Linked DNA regions of Homo sapiens: region 1 is linked to region 2. Evidence: promoter capture Hi-C in human tissues and cell types (Jung and others, 2019). All regions are on one chromosome and are shown on one strand. The core of a region is centred on a gene start or on the middle of the fragment in contact, and the rest is flanking DNA. Distances in the headings are between cores, read along the strand shown.

Region 1 (6,495 bases), core at 864-3,363, 100 kb after region 2:
GATGATAATAATAATACTACCTACCTTAGAGAGTTGTGGTGAAGCACATTTGACATGTGTGGAATATGAAATGCTTAAACACCTGGCACAGAGTAACTGCCTCATAAACTGAAGATATTATGATCATGATTTTTATTGATAGAAGAATCAAGGAACAGCTAAATCATGTAGTATATGGGAAGGAATGATACATGGTATCCAGGAAGACGAGAACTGCAAAATATTCTTTGGGTTTGGTGATATGAAGGTCAGTAATACATTTCAGAATAATAATTCGAGGGGAACTGTGGGTGGAAGCCAGATTACCGTGATTGCTGAGTGAATGGAAAGTAAGCATGTAAAGGCATCAGAAGAGCAAAAAGAGCAATGGAACAGAAAAGTCAGTCTAAGACCAGATTCCTGCTCATATGGAAATTTAGCATATGTAAGTCAGCAGGGGAAGAATGGACTATTCAGGAGATGATGCTGGGAAAATAGGCCATCTATTTAGGAAAAAAATAAAACGAGACCCTCTCACACAAACACCATTCACAAAAATAGATTCCCATTGGACTAAAAACAGATTTCTAAAAATATAAGGAGAAAACATCAGAGAATATTTTTATAACTTTGGGGGTAGAGAAGGCTTTTCCAATCATGACACAAAATTCAAAAGTCATAGAAGAAAAGACTGATGGATTTAAATTCATTAAAATAAAAAACCCTTTTGTATTGAAAGATACCATAAACAAAAGTACAAACAAGCTACAGATGGGGAGAAGATATTTGCTGCCTAAATAACAGACAAAGGATTCTTCTAAAATGGAAAAAGAGCTTCTACAATTCAATGAGAAATAAACAAATAATTTACAGAAGGGGAAATACTTATGTACAATCAACATATGAAATGATGGTCATTCAACTTCCCCAGTAATTAAAGAAATGCAAAATGAAACAAATATTTTTTATCCATCAGATCTGCAAAAACAAAAGGATGGTATAATATCCACTAACACGAGGTAATTTCATTCACGTTGATGGGACTGTAAATTGATATAGACTTCTTGGAGGGCAAATTTGGCAGTATCTATTAAAATTTTAAATGTGAATAATTTATGACCCAGCAGTTCCACCTTTTAAGTATACAGCCTAGAGAAACAGTTGCACATGCTCCTGAGAAGCATAGAGAAAGCATGTTCACTGTAGCTTTGGTTATTGAATGAAAAACAATTTAAACAGTCTAAATTTCTACCAACAGAGCAATTAAATAAACTGTGGAATTACCATACCATGGAATTGTGTTTGGCAGTTTAATAGAATGAGGTAGATCGATATATACTCACATGGCTAGATCTCAGGATATGTTGTTAAGTGAAAAAAAGAAGTTGCAGAATGATCACGATGCGGTGTCTGTAAATCTGCCCCCCTCCCTCCAATAAAACCACAAATATTTCTCTCTATTTATGTGCGTAGATGCATAGAAAAAGGTCTGGAAAGATAATCAGCAAACTGAAAATAGAGGTTATCTGTGAGGAAGGAAGAATCGGTATTCTTTTTTATTTTTTTGAGACGGACTTTCGCACTGTTGCCCAGACGGGAGTGCAGTGGCGCTATCTCGGCTTACTGCAAGCTCCGCCTCCCGGGTTCACGCCATTCTCCTGCCTCAGCCGCCCGAGTAGCTGGGACTACAGGCGCCCACCACCACGCCCGGCTAATTTTTTTTGTATTTTTAGTAGAGACGGGGTTTCACCGTGTTAGCCAGGATGGTCTTGATTTCCTGACCTCATGATCCGCCTGCCTCGGCCTCCCAAAGTGCTGGGATTACAGGCGTGAGCCACCGCACCCGGTCGAGAATAGGTGTTCTTGCATAAATAAATTTAGGTTAAGCGCGGTGGCTCTTACCTCTAATCCCAACACTTTGTGGGGCCAAGGTAGAAGGATCACTTGAGCCCAAAAGTTCAGGACCAGCCTGGATAACATAAAGAGACCCCGTCTCTACACAAAAATAAAAAATTAGCCAGGTGTGGTGGTGTGTGCCTGTAGTCCCAGATACTCAGAAGGCTGAGGCAGGAGAATCGCTTGAGCTCATGAGTTCGAGGTCACAGTGAGCTATGATCATGCCATTGTTCTCCAGCATGGGCAATAGAGCGAGGCCTCGTCTCTAAAAAATAGATAAAAAAGAAAGCTTGTCTGAGCTGGGAGAAATACACAAGGCCATGTCTAGAGGGGGACAAGGAGGTCAGGGGCAACTCTTGAGGATGGGAGAGATGATGAGGGCTTGAACAGGAAGAGAAGCTTTGAGGATAGAGAGGAGGGGCAGATTTGAGAGAATTGACAAGACTGAGAACCAAGTTGCCGTGGAAACCTAGTCCACTTTATAAACTTAAATGTCTACTATGTGACAAGTACAGTGTGAAGTGTCAGAGATACTAAGAAATAAGGCACAGTTTTTTTGTTTTGTTTTTTTTTTTTTTGAGACGGAATCTCACTCCGTTGCCCAGGCTGGAGTGCAGTGGTGCGATCTCGGCTCACTGCAACCTCCGCCTCCCAGGTTCAAGCAATTCTCCTGCCTCAGCCTCCCGAGTAGCTGGGACTACAGGTGCCTACCACCATGCCTGGCTAATTTTTGTATTTTTAGTAGAGACGGGGTTTCACTGTGTTGGCAGGGCTGGTCTCGAACTCCTGACCTCAGGTAATCCGCCTGCCTCGGCCTCCCAAAGTGCTGAGATTATGGGTGTGAGCCACCCCACCTGGCCTCCACATTTTCACATTTTCTTTATTTTATTTTATTTATTTAATTATTTTTTGAGACGGAGTCTCACTCTGTCGCCCAGGCTGGAGTGCAGTGCCTCAATCTTGGCTCACCGCAACCTCCGCCTCCTCGGTTCAAGCAATTCTCCTGCCTCAGCCTTCTGAGTAGCTGGGATTACAGGCGCACGCCACCATGCCCAGCTAATTATTATATTTTTAGTAGAGACGGGGTTTCACCCTGTTGATCAGGCTGGTCTCGAACTCCTGACCTCGTGATCCGCCCACCTTGGTCTCCCAAAGTGCTGGGATTACAGGCGTGAGCCACTGCGCCTGGCCTCCACATTTTCTTTATCCGGTCATCAGTTGATGGACATTTGGGTTGTTTCCACCTTTGGGCTACTGTGAATAATTTACTCAAGCTGGGTTCACCAAGTCCCACCTCCCTGGCCGTCTTCCCATTGCTCAAACCTGTCAGACTGGTTTCTGCCTCAGAACCATCCTCACATTTATTATTCCCACTGCCTGGAATGCTCTTCACCCAGATCTCTCCATGGCTCTGTCATCCTCATCCTTGCGGCTCAAATGTCACACCCTTAGAGAAGCCTTCCCTGATCACTGTATTTAAAGTAGTTGAACCCTCAATCACATGTATATCCCATTATCCTATTGGAGTATCTTCATAGTACATATCATTATCCGAAATGAATAAGTATTATTGTCTAGACCAGGGGTTATTTTGTGCCATTGGCCCCGTTAGCAATCTAGTGAGGCCTATGGGCTCATTCTCAAAATAATGTTTTTAAATGCCTAAAATATACCAAGTATACTAAAAATACAGTTACTAAAATATTTAAAAATTGTGACTTAGCAATCCATGTGCTTCTCTATCAATTCCAGAAGTAATAATATCTATATGCAGGCTTAATAATTACCAGAATTTGAATGTTGTAATGAGTATAAATGCTATTTTGAGCTATTTACAACAACTGGAATGGGAAATGATGATATCAGTGATTTCTATTGGTTATGAAATCACAGGTACTGCTAACATTACTATAGATTGTTACCTATGTCTGCAGCTGAAGAAACTGCTAAACTTCAGTTAGAGATTAGTGAAAAAGATGTATTTTTTTCCTATCTAAGTTCACAGATCCTCTGAATTCTATTCACAGAACCTAGGAGGTCCATGAACCCTGTGTTAAGAACGGCTGTCTTGAAATGTCAAAGATTATCAGTAGTGATGGGGAGGGATGGAGTCTGTTGGAGCTGGTTTTGGTCGAAAATGGAGGAGATGAGGAGATCACAGTGAGCGAGGGAATCAAGAGCTAGAAGAAAGCTGCCCTCTCTGCCCTTCCATGGGACTTGGGTGTGGAGATGAAGAAATTTCCAGTTGAGAAGGATATGAGAAAAGCAGCATCTCTGAAGGATAGTCAGGTGTCACTTAGAGGAAGGAAGCAGTTTGGGAGGAGGTAGCCTATAAGAGTAAAGGATTTTGTTTACCACCCACTGGAGTCCAGTGAGCAGCACAACAGAGTGTGGGAGAGAGGTGGCCACCGTGGGAAGATGAGTCACTGGGGCCTGGGGGTGGAGGGAATGCAGAGCAGTAGCGGAAACTTTACTATGTTCCAGACAGCAGGCTAGACGTGGAGGATACAGAGATGAATAAGACGAAGATAAGCCACCCATTTAGGATTCGTCTACACCAAATCCTGGTGGCTGATTGGCTGGTTTGGCTGGTCTGATCCATGTACATCTTGAGAGCTTCCGAGAGCCAGAGGCAATTGCAGTAAGACAGGCACAGGGTATCACTACAGATTTCGGGGTGTGTGGGGGAGCTAAAAAATGCACTTTTTAGCTTTATTTTCTTTCCTCTGATTCCTTCTGCAAAGCAAAAAATGAAGTAAAAAAAAATTACGTAATTGAGAAAAAAAATGAAGCAGTGCCATCATCAACTATTTCAAATCAGCAAAACATCCAAAAATTAATTAAATAAGCCTAGGGGATACATTCCCCACCCTCACTCCAAATTCGTCAGGAACCTTCTAAGGATCTTTGCAACCAAGAGATTCTTTGATGCGATTACCCTTCGGAACAGTGGCTCGGAGGGATCAAAGGAATAAAGAAAGGACTATGTTTTTAGAGTTTTCTCTGGGGCTTGGGAGGCAGAGGTTGCAGTGAGTGGAGATCGCACCACTGCACTCCTGCCCGGGCAACAGAGCGAAACTCCATCTTAAAAAAAAAGATTTTTCTCTGGGGCTCCAGAGATAGCCTGCACCTGGATCTCAGCTCTGGCTGCAGCTCTCAGAATCTAGGATCCTGTGATTCTTTCTTAAAAGGCTATTTTCCCCTTCTCTACTAGGGGGATCTTTCAGAAAGGCTCAGCCTGGGAGCTGCTGCAGGTGGGAGGCATTGGCTGGGCTCAGCTCCTCCTTTGATCATCATGTTCCCTTCTGGCAGCGGTATCTGAAAACTCCCTGCCCTGGGCCCACATGACAAGCCTCTTCTAGCCTGAAGGGAGGCACCCCCTCAGCCAGAGAGGCAGCAGACAGACAGGGGAGATGAGAACAAGAGGCAGAGCTGAGCTAAGCTGACCTAGTTAGAGCAGAAAGAGGCCGTAGGGGTGACGGGGATGACGTGGGAGGGGACTGGGACAGAGGGAGAGGGAAGTTTCCCAGGGAGGCCCAGGAAAGAGAGACATAGAGGGCTGACTGTTGTTTAAGAAGCCTTGGCAAGACTTGGGGGCCACCTAGAGGAGCCGCGTGTGGAGACTCAGTGAGCTGGCGGGCCTGTGTCCATGTGTGCAGGGTGTGCGGAGGGGAGTAGCTTTACCAGATTTTGCCTGAATACTTTGTTTGTTTGTTTGTTTGTTTTTGGAGATGGGGTCTCACTCTGTTGCCCAGGCTGGAGTGCAGTGGCATGATCTCCACTCACTGCAACCTCTGCCTTCCGGGTTCAAGCGATTCTCCTGCCTCAGCCTCCTGAGTAGCTGGGATTACAGGCATGAGCTACCACAGCTGGCTAATTTTTGTATTTTTAGTAGAGACGAAGTTTTGCCGTGTTGCCCAGGCTGGTCTCGAATCCTGAGCTCAGAAGATCCGCCCGTCTCAGCCTCCCAAAGTGCTGGGATTACGAGCCATGATCCACTGTGCCTGGCCTGAATACTTAAAGTCACCACCTTGGCAGAAATGAGAATCAGAAAAATATCTTGACCTTGGGGGAGCCAAGTGTGGAGCTCCGCTAAACCTAGCGAGAATGAGCAAAAGCCCTGAATGTTCTCACAAGATTGCCCAGCAGTGGGCCAAAGAGAGGTCTTGTTACCCACTGTGTACCCAGCTCTCATCTAGGCACTGTAGGGCGAGATAAAGGGAGCAAAGACATGAGCCCAGCTTGGAGGAAAATCAGTCCCTCTACAGATACAGCCAGTGGGCTCCATGCTGTGTTGGGGCCCCCCGAGGGACAGACAAGTGCCCTTCACAGGCCCTGCTCTTTAGGAAGGCACAATCTATTTGAGAGAATCCTTGTGAAGCAACAATAAGTAATTGAATGCCATTTCTTGTTATGCCCCTGACTCGCAGAAGGGATTTCTGGCATAAGTGGGGAAGGCCGTAGGAAGGAGGAGGACATTAAGCTGAGCCCTGAGGTCTGGGAGGGCAGAATTGGGATGAGGAGAGAGAAAGGGGCATTCTAGTGAAGGTGCACAGATGGGCATAAGTTTGGCTCATGTAGGGACCAAGAAGGTGGCCAGGCTGACAAGATTGGAGGCCC
Region 2 (7,292 bases), core at 4,775-7,274:
AAACCACAAGATCCCTCCTGGACTACCCTAGCAGATAATGGAGTTTTGCCACAAGAACCTGCTGAGCCCCTTAGGATTCTTTCAAACAGCTGTTATTTCCTATTCCCTATGTGTCACGCAGTGTGCCAGATGTTGCACATACATTATCTTGAATGCTCAGAACAAACCTGCAAAAAATATTCTATTGGTCCCATTTCACAGATGAGGAAATTGCCACTCAGGCCAGCAAGTAGCTCAAGGTCATGAATCGGGAGCTAGGATTTGAACCCAGGCAAGGCTGAGAGCTTTCCACCACACCAGTGGTTTTGAATTTTACTCCAGGGGCCACCGTGTAGGACTGTCTGTCTAGAATAGAGGCGGGGGTGGGGAGATTTACACATGGGGATTCTAGGTAAGCTTCATTAGAGCAAAGACTTTGGAGGAGAAAAAAAGAGAAGTTTGAAAGGCACTGCCCTCACAGGGGTCTTTGAACTTCCTGGGGTGAAGAATGACTAATTTTTTTAGAAACAGGGTCTTGCTCTGTTGCCCAGGCTGGAGTGCCATGGCACGATCATGTTCACTGCAGCCTCTACTTCCTGGAATCAGGTGACCCTCCCACCTCAGCCTCCCAAGTAGCTGGGACTACAGGCAAACAGCAACTACAGGCATACAGCCTTGTTAGTATGACTTTTCTGAAAGCATTGCTTAGAAGTGTTTTGCTTTTGCGATGCATTTGCCGCCAGTTTTCTCCCCTGGCACATTCATCCTCCAGGTGACTGCTAGAGTGATCTTCCAAAATCTCATCATGCTACTCCTCTGCTTATAAACCCTCCATGATTCCCAACTACCTTTTGGCTAAACTTCATGAACCTCTTTTAGGTGATCTGGACCCCCTTCCACTTCTCCAGCCTTGCCATTAACCACTCCCCAGCTTCCACCCTCCTGCCAAACCCTCTGCCTTTATAGTGCATGGTACTTGCCACACTCAACGGTCAACTCCCACTCACCCCTCGAGCCTCAGATCAGGCACCACCTTCCTCCCCAAAAGCCTTTTCTATTCCTCTTGACCTGGATCCGGCCCTGCCTCCTGCGCTCCCTCAGCACCCCCTCCCCCTGATCCATCACAGCCCTGCTTCTGTCTCCTCTTCTTGCTCGGCTCCCCTGCTAGAATGAAGTCTTGCATCATCTGCTTAACTCCACTTTGCTCCCCTGGAAAGAGGTTTCTCGGGGAATTTGCTCTTTCTCTTGGGGTAAGCATACCAGTCTTGCCTCAAAAAGCATACCAGAAATGCCAACGGCTTGATGTGAGGCACGGAGAGTTTTCAGCATGGGAGTTTGTCCCCTGCAGCCAAACCTCAATTTTACATGGAGGAGATAGGCTAGGCAGTATCACATGATGAGAAAAATCTGTGGGGAAGAGTAGCTGACTACAGGAAAACTACAGAAAACCGTTTTCAAATCTTCCAGGTAATTTGGTTTTCGTTTTGGAAAGAGTAGGGTGAACGCTTGTCTCAGGCCCCCAGATCTGCTAACAGTTAAGATGCTTAGGTTCAAACTTTTCCTATAAAGAGGGGACTACTGTTATAAGTGTCCTTTGAATGCTCAGCACACACCAATCTTCCCTGCAAGCCAGGAGCCTGCAGACTCAGCCAAGTGGCAAGAAGGCCCTGCCCTGACAGCCTTCACCAAGCCCAACCCACCTTGGCAGCTATCAAGGGGGAGGTTGTGGAACAGAAACCACAGTCCTGCATCAGTTGGCCTGTTCGCATCTATAAAATGGGCACGGGGTGGAGAGAGTTAATGCCAGATGCCAATGCCAACTGCCAGAATCTAGGAACTGTTAGCCCTCCCTCCTTCAATTACTAAAGAAAAGAAGTTCATTTAGAAAAGACAAAGGAAGGCCAGGCACGGTGGCTCATGCCTGTAATCCCAGCACTTTAGGAGGCCAAGGTGGGCGGATCACCTGAGGTCAGGAGTTCGAGACCAGCCTGGCCAACATGGTGAAACCCCATCTCTACCAAAAATACAAAAATTAGCTGGGCGTGGTGGTGGGTGCCTGTAATCCCAGCTACTCAGGAGGCTGAGGCAGGGAGAATCACTTGAACCCTGGAAGCGGAGGTTGCAGTGAGCTGAGATCACACCATTGCACTCCAGCCTGGGCAACAGAGCAAGACTCCATCTAAAAAAAAAGAAAGAAAGAAAGAAAGAAAGAAAAGACAAAGGAAATGCTCTATTACACTGTGTAAGTGTGTTTAAGGTGTAGCTCCTGGAGACATGGGACAGGCTGAAAACAGCAAGGGGGTTTGGATCATTTCATGATTGAGAAGACCCTCATGGGTTACTAAAGGAAGGCAGTGTGGGCCAGGCACAGAGTCTTATATCTGTAATTCCAGCACTTTGGGAGGCTGAGGTGGGAGGATGACTTGAACCCAGGAGTTCGAGACCAGCTTAAGCAACATAGCGAGACCCTGTCTGTACAGACACACACACAAAAAAAATAGCTGAGCATGGCAACATGTGCCTGTAGTCCCAGCTACTTGGGAGGCTGAGGCAGGAGGTTCACCAGAGCCCAGGTGTTTGAGGCTGCAATGAGCTATGATCGTTGCCACGGTACTCCAGACTGGGTAAGAGTGAGACGCCATCTCAAAAATAAAAAATAAAGGAAAGTAGGAAAGTTTTGAGCACAGAAGCAAACAGGCCCACCAGGCAGAGATGGAAACCTGGATGGATGGGCTCAGGGTGGCGTTTCTGGGCTGTTTGTTAGTGGTGACTGTTTCTGGCTGGTGTTCACGGACTGGGATGAGAGGGCTGGGGAACGCGACAGTCCATTGCAAGGGCTACCCAAGCCTTCAGGGATACAGTGCTATTTTTAAAATGCACTGTTCTCCAAGGCAGCATGGGTCTGTAGCCAGCAACTGCTTTCCTGGCCTTTCAGGCTCAGTCAACCCTCCTGTAGTCTATTTAATTCATGCCATTTCTGAATGGGAGCAATTTTGCAAGCTACAATTTATGCATTAAACTTAACTTTTTAAAAAGAATTTTACGTAAGTGAAATATATATATTTATTGAGATAGGGTCCCACTCTGTCACCCAGGCTGGAGTGCAGTGGAATGCTTTACTCACTGCAGCCTCCACCTCCCAGGCTCAAGCAATCCTCCCACCTCAGCTTCTCTAGTAGCTGGGACTACAGGCCTGCACCACTACAACTGGCTAATTTTTGTATATTTTTGTAGAGACAGGGTCTCCCTATATTGCCCAGGCTGGTCTAGAACTCCTGGGCCCAAGGGATCCTCCTGCCTCAACCTCCCAAAGTGCTGGGATTACAGCTGTGAGCCACCACACCCAGCCTTAAACTTAATTTTTTAAATGCTGCTGAGCAGGTGTGGTGGCTCGTGTCTGTAATCCCAGCACTTTGGGAGGCTGAGGCAGGGGAACACTTGAGGTTAGGAGTTCGAGACCAGCCTGACCAACATGGCGAAACCCCATCATTACTACAAATACAAAAATTAGCCAGGCGTGGTGGTGCACGTCTGTAATCCCAGCTACTTGGGAGGCTGAGGTAGGAGAATCGCTTGAACCCAGGAGGCAGAGGTTGCAGTGAGCCTAGATCACGCCATTGCACTCCAGCCTGGGCGACAGAGTGAGACTCTGTCTCAAAAAACAGTAATAATAAATAAATGCTGCTGGCTGGGCGTGGTGGCTCATGCCTGTAATCCCAGCACTTTGGGAGGCTGAGGCAGGCGGATCACTAGGTCAGGAGTTCGAGACCAGCCCAGCCAACATAGTGAAACCCCGTCTCTACTAAAAATACCAAAAAAAAAAAAAAAAAAAAAAAATCAGCCGGGCGTGGTGGCGGGTGCCTGTAGCTATTTGGGAGGCTGAGGCAGGAGAATTGCTTGAACCCGGGAGGCAGAGGTTGCGATGAGTCAAGATTGCGCCACTGCACTCCAGTCTGGGTGACAGAGTGAGACTCCATTTCAAAAATAAATAAATAAATGCTACTGAGGAAAGCCCCATCTTGGAAAAAAAAAAGTGCCCGTGGGTGTGTCTCATTAGAGGCCACAAATCAAGGTAAATTACATGACTGACCGTGGAAATATCAGAAATGTAAATTTGGAAACTTTTGCCTTTTACCCCCAACCCAAGGCCCCTATATGACAACTCTTCTAGGATGAGGCTGGTGCCTGAGGCCAGACCATCAAAGAGCTCAGGACAGAGGTGAACTGTATGTTTCTCCTCAGATCCAAGTGGAAGTAGCTTCTTCTGTGCACAGCTCTGGCCATTTGTTCTGAGAAGGAGGCCCAGAGCCTGCCCCGGGGGGCACAACATCACGGCCATGGTTGGGTGACCTCTACCCTGCAAACATATGCAGTTTCTTCCTTTGTGGTTAGTAAGGGAGGTGGGGGAAAACACTGAAAGGACAGCCTTGTCATGTGAAAAGAACACATATTCCACTTTAATATACATAAGAAGTAACCTGTGATACATGAGAAAAAGTACCAGTAAGGCTGGGTCGTCTCAGGAGGAGGTTGTCAGAGGCTGACTCTACCCGCACCCCAAGACCCATTAATGGCCGAGCGAGGCCGGCAGAGTTAGGCGTTTTCTCTGCATTGGTGGTTTACAATCTTAACTCATTCTTCTAGCGAATGTTTCCTAATAAACCCAGCGCGTCGGCCTGCCCAGAAATGGCCCCTGGAAGCTTAACTTGCCCTCTCCCAAGCAGGACCACGCTCCCTGCTCCCAACTCCTTAGTCCTGTAGCTTTGGAACTCGGAGCCAGGCCAGCTTGGTCCTTCACTCTCTCTTGGTGAGGTGGTGCCCGAGTCCCCGGGTCCTCCAGGCCGGTGGTTACAGGAGACCTGAGACAAGTACCTGAGTCGGACCCCGACGTGTTCTGTTCCTTGCAGGCCCAAGCAGCGTCCAAGGCGCCTCTCCTTCGGTGGAACCCGGGACAACCCAGGACCTAGCCATCGCCACAGTGTCACAGCCCCTCCTAGCTCTCCAGTCTCTGTCCCTGTCAACGGTCCTGGAATGAGGGGAACAGATGGCGGAAAAGGCTATGCATTTGCGCCACCCGGCTGCCCGCGGTGTCCTTCGCCTTGGTCCGCGACGCTGCCACTCTCCTGCTTGTCTCCACAGCCGTCGCGCCCACTGCGCTCGCGGCCCTCCACGCAGTGGTGCCACTGCTGTTGTTGTTCAGGTTGGTGCACCCGCTGCCGCTCTCCATCTCCCATTCCTCGGCTCCCGACAGCTCCCGCAACCTCCAAGGCGCGTCGGGCCGCAGGTAGTGGCAGGCCCGGTGGCCGCTGTGGTCGCGGCGCGTAGCGTCAGCACCCAGGGCGCCCACCAGCACCTTGATGACCATGTCGTGGCCCTGAAGGGCCGCCAGGTGGAGGGGCGTGAGGCCGCCGCTGCCTGGGGCGCTCACGTCGAGCCTCAGCCCCCGGCGTAGGGCGAAATCGTGTACCAGAATGAGCTCCTCGTGGCGCCCGTGCTTGGCCAGCCAGTGCAGAACCGAGTAGCCGGTGATCGGGTCGCCCCGCAGCAGCAGCTCCGGCTCAGCCTCCAGCAGCTCCCGCAGCACCTCATAGCGGCCCTCGGCGGCTGCCAGAATCCACGCGTGCTCCCGCGGTTCCAGGCACAGCCTGCTGCTGCCCGGCCCACTCGGCCCGCCCAGCTCCTCGGCGCGCTCCTCCGACAGCCACCCCGCAGGAGCCGCCCGCTGCAGCCCCAGCAGTTCCCGCAGCGCTCCCCGCCGGCGCCCTGAGCCCGCTGCAGAGTGCATCAGCGTGCCTGGGAAGGGGTGCTCCCGGGAGGCGGCGGCTGCGGCTTTGCCCCAGTACCTGCCCAGGCTACCAGTGTCCGCTCTCGAGGGGCGGGGCTGCGGGGCGCACCGCAGGCTCTGCGAGGTCGGCGCGAGAGAGGCCGTGGGTGCCCGGTTCGCGGCCCCTCCGAGCTGGGCCATGGTCTTGAAGCTGCCGCCGCGGCCGTCCCAGTGTCCAGCGTTAGCTGCCCTTCCCGGGCCCCAACGGGAGAGGAACTGGCGCTGGCGTTGGGGAAGGAAGCTGCTTGAGCAATTGGGTTCGGAGGGAGGGAGCAAAGGAGAGGAGGAGGAGGAGGAGGAGGAGGAGGGAGGGAGCTAGGGGAGGGCCCCCGCGCAGGCCTTGGGGGGCGTGGAGGGGTGTGAGCTCCAGCCAAGTCCCCAGGGCAAGCCCAGCTCCACTTCCCTGGGTACCGCCGCCTCTGCAGCTCCCCCGGGTCGCGGGCGGTCCCACCCCAAACGGCCAGGTGAGCTCGGCAGCCCCGCCTCCAGCACCGAAGGGCGGGCGCGGGGACTGGCTGGGAGCTCGCCTGCGGCCCTGGAAGCCGCGGTTCTCAGCATCCCAGCCGGGGCTAGAGTGTAGAGGCGCGAGGGCGCCCCTTCCGCAGCGGGCCGAGCTCGGCTTCCAGCCACGGTCTCCCAAAGCGCGGTCCTGGAGCTCCGAGGCTCTGGCTCCCCGCCCCCTTCCTTCGCCCTTCCCTCTTATCTCTTCAGGAGTCTCCCTGCACTTTGTCCCGGAGTTGCCATTGTCCCGCGCCTAGCATTCACGCAGGCAGCTCGACTGCCCCATGTGACTGGCTCGTCTGCCTGCCTTGCCCTTTGTGTGGCCTTGACCCTCGCCGCAGCACCCGGGGCTGCCCAGGATTCCAGCAGAGAAGCCCAAGACCAGGGTCCAGGCTGACGCTCTTCCAGGGAACTCAGGAGGGATATTCCCCTTCTGCACCGCCCTCTCTGTCCTGCTCTCCACCCTCTTCCCTCCCGTCAATTTTCCCAGGTTGGCTTGGAGAAGCAGCTACAGGTGAATCTGAGCCGGCGCCGCAGGAGCGCCCTGTTCTCTTTAGAGATGCATCCCTGCTCTCTCCCCAGGGCCCCGCTTTCTACAAATTCAAAGCTTAGGGGCTTTTTAAAAAAGGATATTTTTTCTTTTTCACTCCTAATACCAGCGTACTCTTTGCTCTTCCCTTCCCTTAGTAAATAGTGGTTCTTGCCTCCACACCCCCAGCATCTTAAGGAGCTCAGTCAGTGAGCAACGGGGAGCCATAGAAGATTGTTGAGCCGGGGAGAGACACAGCCATGATGGAGGTTGTGTTAAAAAGGTGATTTGGGAGGTGCAGAGGCAGGAAGTCGGAAGACTGTTCCAGCAGTCTAGGCCAAGGGGGATGGAGGCTCAGGCCAAATCAGCCCACTCCCTCGGGGCCACCTGTGGCAGCAGTGATAGAAGGTATCGGAAGCTTTTCTTCCTTGGCCCTCACGTATTTGGAACAAGTCCTAA

Evidence for each region. The method cuts DNA at HindIII sites, captures the fragments that hold promoters and counts their contacts. A contact is called where the count stands out against the background at its distance.
Region 1: a fragment that was not itself captured here is called in contact with the fragment with the promoter of SOWAHD in region 2 in 3 of the 25 tissues and cell types used here (lymphoblastoid cells, mesenchymal stem cells and pancreas).

The regions. Positions count from the first base shown.
Region 1 is chrX:119,653,177-119,659,671 of GRCh38, reverse strand. The region is part of intron 3 of SEPTIN6 (septin 6); the gene reads left to right. Among named protein-coding and RNA genes, the nearest start is that of MIR766, 9.6 kb to the right of the region's middle. RefSeq lists an enhancer at 4,142-4,191. The HindIII fragment of the contact is 5,028 bases long and covers 1-4,627 here.
Region 2 is chrX:119,757,320-119,764,611 of GRCh38, reverse strand. It overlaps SOWAHD (sosondowah ankyrin repeat domain family member D), which reads right to left and starts at 6,024. Exons shown (of 1, transcript NM_001105576.3): 1 at 4,410-6,024. The coding sequence starts at 5,944. The coding sequence ends at 4,997. RefSeq lists enhancers at 4,014-4,083, 4,094-4,163 and silencers at 5,715-6,014, 6,125-6,274. The HindIII fragment of the contact is 4,543 bases long and covers 2,539-7,081 here.